Regions from separate parts of the Homo sapiens genome. Here region 2 is linked to region 1. The links are contacts of gene promoters, found by promoter capture Hi-C in human tissues and cell types (Jung and others, 2019). All regions are on one chromosome and are shown on one strand. Each heading gives the region's core, a stretch centred on a gene start or on the middle of the fragment in contact. The rest is flanking DNA. Distances are from core to core; before and after follow the strand shown. Region 1 holds the start of LFNG (LFNG O-fucosylpeptide 3-beta-N-acetylglucosaminyltransferase). Region 2 overlaps CHST12 (carbohydrate sulfotransferase 12).

Region 1 (3,933 bases), core at 1,434-3,933:
GCTCCTGGGAGGGGCGGGGAACCTCTGGGCCAAAGGCCAGGCTCTTCATCCTGGACTCCAGGCCCATCTCAGCGCGGCCCCTGCTGACCAACCGACCCTCCCCCCAGCCACCACTCCAGTTGCTAGAAGTTTCCTGCACAACCCCCATGCTGTGGTCATCACCATGCCCGGATGGAGTGCCCTTTCTGGGCACTTTTTTACTCTTAGTCTAGCTCAAATGGCGCCTCCTCCAGGAAGTCTTCCCTCCTCCCTCCCTTCCCCCAGCATGTGGGTCAGATGCCCACTGTTGCCTCACACAGCCTCTCGGGGTTTTCCCCCCGCACAGCCCTGACATCTTTCTATCTCCCCCATCAGACCATGTCTGAGTCATTCCGTGCAGGGCTGGGAGAGGGGGGCCCTCTTCTGTGGGTTTCCAGGACCCCTGCCCATCACCCACCACAAGGGGGTCTTTGCTTGCTGTGTGCTGGTGAACTGATGCTGAGGGCAGATTCAACCTGTCCCCTGGTGGGGTGACCCTCCAGTAGGGACCTCAGGGCTCAAGGGAGTGATGGCCCCCACCTCGACCCTGAGTGCCCGCCGGGTTCACCCCATGCCTGCAGGCTTTGCCAGTCTCTTACAACGTGCTCCTGGAAGGACCATGTTCCCCCATTTCAGAGATCAGAGTGAGGGTCTGAGAGGCCCCAGGTCTTGCTCAGGATCACACAGCCCAGCCCTCTGACCACATCCCCTCTGTTGGAGAAAGGCCCCAAATTCCAAGATGAGAGGTGCTCAGAGCTGGTGGTAGCCCAGAGTGGGGCTGAAGGATGCCCAAGATCACATAGCAGTAAGGCTTGAGTGCTGGGGGTGGGGGGGCCAGGCTCAGGGATGGTGCCCCAAAAGGACTGTCAGTAAGAGATGCTGGGGGGGCCCGCTGGTCCCCTCATCGCCAGGCAACCTGAGTGGCCAGCACGCCAGCAGCGGTTCCCACGGAGCGCGTAGCTGCACACAAGGGGCCCGACGCCTTTCTCGCTGGAGAAAGGGGCTTTGTTACCTTGCCCAAGGGGCCGGCGTGAGAGCCGCCCGGCGCTGGGAATCCTAACGGCCCGGCCGCCAAACAAAACCCACGGCCCCCGCCGCCCCCTCCCGCCAGCCCGCTGAGCCCCTGGGAATGGGACGCTGTGTTCCCAGGAGGCTGCCATGGGGTTCCCAGGGCCCCTTCCCCACGCCAGGACCAGGGAGGACCCTGCCCCTCCCCGTCGCCCTCATGACCTCACCAAGCCCTGCTCCCACCCACCCACAGTGCCCCAAAACAGGACAGCGCCAGGTCAGAAGGCCCTGGGTCTCCGGGGTTTGAGCAGGGAGGAAGGCGTGCAGGGTCTTCCCTGAGCCCCCACCCTCACAGCAAATGCCTCTGCATCTCCCAGCCCAGAGACACCCCCCCAGTCCCCGACTGCAAGCCCCACACACTGTCCCCATCCCGCCCCAGCCCAACCGTCCTGCTGTGGCCTCGAGGGAAATGTTCAAAGTGGGGTGTGTCTTAATTATGTGTGTGTAAGAAGCTGATGCCCAACTGAAGTGGGCTGTGCCCAAGGTTGCAGGCCTCAGAGACTACTGCACTGTGCGGGGAGGGTCCCCACACAGACCCCAAAACCTGGAGTTCTTTGAGATGTACTCCCCAGGACCCACCAACCAGCAATGACTTCCCTCCCTCCCCGTACCTTAACACTGTGATGAGGAAAGGGCCCAGAGGTCAGAACCCCTCACTTCTCTAAAGGAAGAGCCTTTCTCCCCAGGAAGGGGTCTGAGCTGAGGGTGGGTCCGAACAGAATTTGCTTGTGGAAGTTTGAGGACATAATGCCCTATGAATGCGCTCCAATGTTTACGGGGTGAGAAGTATCACAGGGCACCAACCCCAAGCACTGGAGACTGGTGTAGGGTCCTGCAGCCATCCAGGACTCTGGAGCTGGACAGGAGGCGGGGCCCCGGGGACAGTAACACAACTGTAACGGGAGAGTGGCCCCAGCAGGCAAACTGGGTGCACCGGGGTGCACTGGCGTCGCCCACAGATGGCCCTAGTGGCTGGATGGGGATGCAGCCTGACTCCCATGGGACACTGCCACCAGCTGGACCAGATGGTGGGTCCCCGCCCCGCTCGCCCGCCAGTCCAGGCCGCGGGGGGCTCACCATCTCCTTGTGGCGCGAGATCCAGGTCTCCAGCAGCAGGTCGAGGCGCGCGCGGTGGAACTTTTTGGTGGTCTTGACAGCGATGAAGACGTCTCGGGGCGCGAGCGGCTCGGCCAGGGGGCGCGGGTGGCCGTCGGCGGGGCGGGGGGCAGCCCCGGGCGGCGGGCCCGCATCTCTGCGCGCGCGGGTGAGCAGGCTGAAGTACTCGGACAGACTGTGCACGTCGCGGACCAGCGCCCCGGGCGCCGCCGCCGCCGCCCCCAGCCCGGGCGCCGGGGCAGCCCCCGCGGGGCCCGCCAGGCTGCGCAGCGCGCGCCGGCCGCGCTCGGCGGGCAGTGGAGGCGGCGGCGGGTCGGCGGTGAGCACCAGCAGGCAGGCGAGCAGCGCGCCCGCCAGCGCCAGCAGCAGGCGCCGGCCGCAGCGCTTGAGCATGGTGGGGTGGCGGCCGCGCGGCGCGCCCTTCCCCGTGCGCCTGCCTTGCACCGACCCGAAGCCCGTCGCTCCGGCGGCGCAGTCCAGCAGCGCAGCACCAGTGTCCCGCGCTCTTAAACCTCCCCGCCCCGGTCCCGCCCCCGTGCGCTCATTGGCTCCCGGGCTCGGGGGCGGGGCCTCGCGCCGGTCGCCGCTCCACGCCCGCAGACCCACGTGGGGCCGCGGCTGGGGGCTGGGAACTGCCCAGAGGGCGCAGCGGCCCCGCCCCCGGCGCGCACGTGCACGCCCCGCACCCCCCCCGCCCCGGGTAGCCCCTGCGGGCCGCCGAGGGGCTTGGGGACGGGCCCGGCCCGCGCCGGTGTCCCTGAAGAGGAAACCCAGCCTGGCCAGCGCCGTCCGGGGATGCACCGGGCGTCCCGGCACGGGAGGGGCGCGCCCTCGGCGCAGCGGGCAGGGTGCTGAGACCCGGGCTCTGGGCTCCGACGCACCGCGGGGGACATCCTACTTCCTCGCTGTGCGCTTCCCCTCCTGAGCACGGCTTCCTCCCCTTGGGACGCGGCAGGCCTTGCAAACTGGGGTGGCGCCTGGGTCTTCCCGAGCGCTCGGTTCAGGGGAGCCGTTATTTGTACAGAGCAAGAGCTTGGCCACCTGTGCCGCAGGTGGGGACACGAGGTTCTAACGAGAAAGCACCAGAACCAAATTCCACTCCTTCCTCCCTGGCTGATTTCCTCGATCCTGGCCCTCCGTCGGGAGGGTTGGCTCCCCGAAATCCTCAGGCGCCCCATGGCGAGGAGAAACGAAGGCCGCCACTTCCCTCGCCGGATGAAAGGCCGCCTTCTGTCCCATTTGGTCTCCTTGCGCTCGGGCCAGATGCGGCCCAGCTGTGCGCCCTCCCCACCCCGCCTCCCCGGCACACGGCCCCCATCCCCGGCCCTTCCCACGGGCCCGGGCCCGCCCCTCGCACGAGCGGGGGCGGCAGGAATGCGCGCCGGCAGCCGAGGGTGAGGGGCGAGGGGCCCGGAAGTGGCCAAGGGTCGCCTGAGCAGGGTGTGAGCCCCCTGCCCGCCACGTCCTCCGGAAGCGTGGACGGAGGCGGCTCTGCCCGTGGCTGCGCTGTCTTCCCGTGCCCTCCTAAGCAGGGTCTCTGCGACCACCACGACCACCACCGCCACCACCGTGGCTAAACTGCCCCCCTCGGAGTTATGTTCACGCCTGAGATGGCATTTTAAATTCTTTAAGTGCCCTTGGAGCCCCTCTCCTTACCTCTACCTGAATGTCAGCCGCAAGACAGCAGCGACCTGGTGTCATTCAGACCTGGAACAGGTTTTGGGACATAGT
Region 2 (3,694 bases), core at 335-2,834, 92 kb after region 1:
AAGCAGATGTTCATAGCTCTGGGAATGGAATGCGACCCTTGTGGAGAGCCTACAAACGGACGCATGGGGGGCGCCTGTCCATATGGATAAGATAGTGCTATAAACGCCCTCATCTTGCCACGGCTCTTCTAGGCCTCTTTAGGGTTAAGGCATACTCCCTTCTGAGAATTTCTGGTCTAACTGGCTGTCTAGCTTCACGTCCTGTTTCTATGGATTGTTTGTAACCAGCTTTTGCTGCAACTATTACTGCTGATTAATATCTTGCTAATCATAGGTTATGGAAAGCCTGTGTTTCTGTTTTAAGGCTGTTAGAAATTACTGATGCACATGCTATATTGTAAATTCTTATCTCTGTATACTGTACTTCTGCATACAGATGTTATGTTAAAGAATTACTTCATCCCCATGTGACCATCTCACCTCATAATCAAATGACCCTAAATCCCTCACTAACCTACCCCCGCCCTCACTAAACTTAATAATAAATGCTGGTATATCCAGTGCATTGGCGGCATCGCAGGACCAGAAGGCGGTCACCCCCCGGACCCAGCTTTCACTGTCTTGTGTGTGTCTATTATTTCTCGACCTGCTGATCCGCCTGGGAACAAATAAAAGAGCCCCGTTGCATTGTGGGCTTCTGGCCAGATCCCACAATACCGTCTCTACTAAAAAATACAAAAAATTAGCTGGGCATGGTGGTGGACGCCTGTAATCCCAGATACTCAGGAGGCTGAGGCAGGAAAATCACTTGAACCCGAGAGGCAGAGCTTGCAGTGAGCCGAGATTGTGCCACTGCACTCCAGCCTGGGTGATAGAGCAAGACTCTGTCTCAAAAAAAAAAAAAAAGAGAGAGAGAAAGCTACAGGCCAATATCACTTATGAACTTGGATGCAAAAATGCTCAAAATATTAATAAACCAAATCCAGCAGTGTATAGAAAGAATCACAGCATAGTGACTCACGCCTGTAACCCCAGCACTTTGGGAGGCCGAGGTGGGTGGATCACGAGGTCAGGAGATCCAAACACGGTGAAACCCCGTCTCTACTAAAAATACAAAAAATTAGCTGGCCATGGTGACGGGTGCCTGTAGTCCCAGCTACTCGGGAGGCTGAGGCAGGAGAATCGCTTGAATCTGGGAGGTGGCGGTTGCAGTGAGCCGAGATCGCACCACTGCACTCCAGCCTGGGTGACAGAGCAAGACTCCATCTCAAAAAACAAACAAACAAAAAGGAGTCACGGCATGACCAAGTAGGGTATGCAAGAACGGCTCAATGTTCAAAAATCAACCATGTAATCTATCATATTAACAAGCTAAAAAATCAACTCCTACAGGAAGGAACAACAAAACCCATATCCATTCATTATAAACACTCTCAGCAAACTTAGCAAAGAGGATATCCTCAACTTATAGGGCATCTACAAACACCCTACAGCTGTACCATTTTTCTATCATCTCTGTAGGGGGGGGTGGCAGATGGAAGGCCCAAACTGTGTTGAACTTTTCATCTTCAAACAAATGTGTAAACTTTTTTTTTTTTTTTTCAAGACAGAGCCTTGCTCTGTCACCTAAGCTGGAGTGCAGTGGCACAATCACAGCTCACTGCAGCCTTGACCTCCTAGGCTCAAGTGATCCTCCCGTCTCAGCCTTCCAAGTAGCTGGGACTGCAGATACACACCACTGGGCCGGGCTAATTTTTAAAAATTTTTTATAGAGTTGTGGTCTCACCATGTTAACCCGGCTGGTCTTGAACTCCTGGGCTCTAGCAAGCTGGCCACCTCGGCCTCGCAAAGTGCTATGAATTTCTTAAACTGAGTATTTTTACATTTGTATGTCTCTCTCTCTCTCTTTTTTCTTTTGTGAGACAGGGTCTCGCTGTGTCACCCAGGCCGGAGTGCAGTGGCATGATCTTGGCTCACTGCAACCTCCGCCTCCCGGGTTCAAGTGATTCTCATGCCTCAGCCTGGCCACCTCGGCCTTGCAAAGTGCTACAAATTTCTTAAACTGAGTACTTTTTCATTTATATGTCTCTCTCTCTCTCTCTTTTTCTTTTGTGAGACAGGGTCTCGCTGTGTCACCCAGGCTGGAGTGCAGTGGCATGATCTTGGCTCACTGCAACCTCCGCCTCCCAGGTTCAAGTGATTCTCATGCCTCAGCCTCCCAGGCAGCTAGGATTACAGGTGCCCACCCTGACACCCGGCTAATTTTTGTATTTTTAGTAGGGATGGAGCTCCACCATGTTGGCCAGGCTGGTCTTGAACTCCTGACCTCAAGTGATCCACCTTCCTCGGCCTCCAAAGTGCTGGGATTACAGGCATAAGCCACCACACCCGGACTGTATGTCTCTCCTGTCACTCTTGTATGTTATATTTTTTTAATATTAGCAACAATCTGAGTGCTTTAAAAAAAAAAACCTACAGCTAACCTCATAATTAAGGGTGCAAGAGTGAGTACCTTACCACCAAGATCATGAACAAGGCAAGGACATCTGTCTACCCGCCCCTGCCCCGTCATCAGTAGACACCTACTCATCCCCAGCTCAGCGAAGTCTTTCCCAGTTGGGTCAAATCCCAGACTATGCACTCTCCATAGGTCCCATCAGCAACTGTGTGCTTATTTGGGGTGTGTATGTTTAATTACTCCCGCTCTCACTCACATAGCTGGGGAGGGTGGGCTCCGTCTGGTTGTGCTCACCACGTGCATGCACATGGTAGGGTGCAGTCAATACCGAGTGAATCTCAGGCTCAGAGGCCCCCATCACATCAGCCTGGCTCTGAAGCCCCTTGTGACCAAGCCCCTGAGGTTCCATGCCAGGTCCTATCCTGGGGCAACCCTGGGCCACCTTCCTGCCTTGGCTTCTTGCTAAGGACGTTGGTTCCTTTACAGAAATGAGTCCCAGCCCCCTGAATATTCGTCCCCACAGCCAGCTGCCCTCTTCTCACTGGCAGTCCCTTCGCACGATGCCCATCTACCTACTCCCATCCCGGACTATGCAGGTCCCCCAAAGAGGTCCCCTGCTGATCTAGCGAGCCCCGTCGTCCCCAGCCTGTCTCTCCCTCCAGCTTACTGCCTTCTGCCAGGCCCTTCCCCCAGAGCGTCTAACCCCTGACCCCTGGCACCTGTGCTGCCACCACCAGAGTGCAGACTCCCCAGAATCTGCATTCAGAAAGATGACACCCTGGAAAGACGAGAAGTAAAGCTGAAAATAAATAAGAGATGGAAACGTATAGTGGGATAAGTGGTAAGTTCTCCACCCAAAAAAATAAAGATCAAATAGACAGCATGGGAGAAGACCTGCAAGTTGGATACAAGAGGAAAAGGGACAAGCTTGACAAAAGACAAAAAAAAAAAAAAGCAAATGCAGTGCTATTTTGCATTTGAACACACACACATCTGCAGATGTGGGCCCCCTGCACCTGTCCCGCGTGTGGGCCTTACAGGTGACTCACCACCTGTGCTCACAACAGTCCTGTGACCTCAGCCACATCCAGAAACAATGGTGGCCACAGGGCATGGATCCCCAGAGGCACTCATCTCCGTCAGAGGCCAGATCCTATCTCTTTCTTTCTAGATGTTTGAGCAGGGCCATCTCATAGGCCCTTTTGGGGGTGGAGGGTAAAAGGTGAATATGAAATATATCCATTTTCAGTGGCTATGACCTGGTCTGGGGTTTCTGGAAGAGCCCAACAGTCTGGA

The links. The method cuts DNA at HindIII sites, captures the fragments that hold promoters and counts their contacts. A contact is called where the count stands out against the background at its distance.
Region 2: a fragment that was not itself captured here is called in contact with the fragment with the promoter of LFNG in region 1 in 2 of the 25 tissues and cell types used here (lymphoblastoid cells and spleen).

Annotation. Positions count from the first base shown.
Region 1 is chr7:2,518,524-2,522,456 of GRCh38, reverse strand. LFNG (LFNG O-fucosylpeptide 3-beta-N-acetylglucosaminyltransferase) reads right to left here and starts at 2,683. Exons shown (of 8, transcript NM_001040167.2): 1 at 2,164-2,683. The coding sequence starts at 2,595. RefSeq lists enhancers at 347-406, 447-576 and silencers at 2,508-2,617, 2,628-3,157. The HindIII fragment of the contact is 23,923 bases long and covers 1-3,933 here.
Region 2 is chr7:2,425,350-2,429,043 of GRCh38, reverse strand. All of the region lies in intron 1 of CHST12 (carbohydrate sulfotransferase 12), which reads right to left. Among named protein-coding and RNA genes, the nearest start is that of CHST12, 24 kb to the right of the region's middle. The HindIII fragment of the contact is 4,686 bases long and covers 1-3,694 here.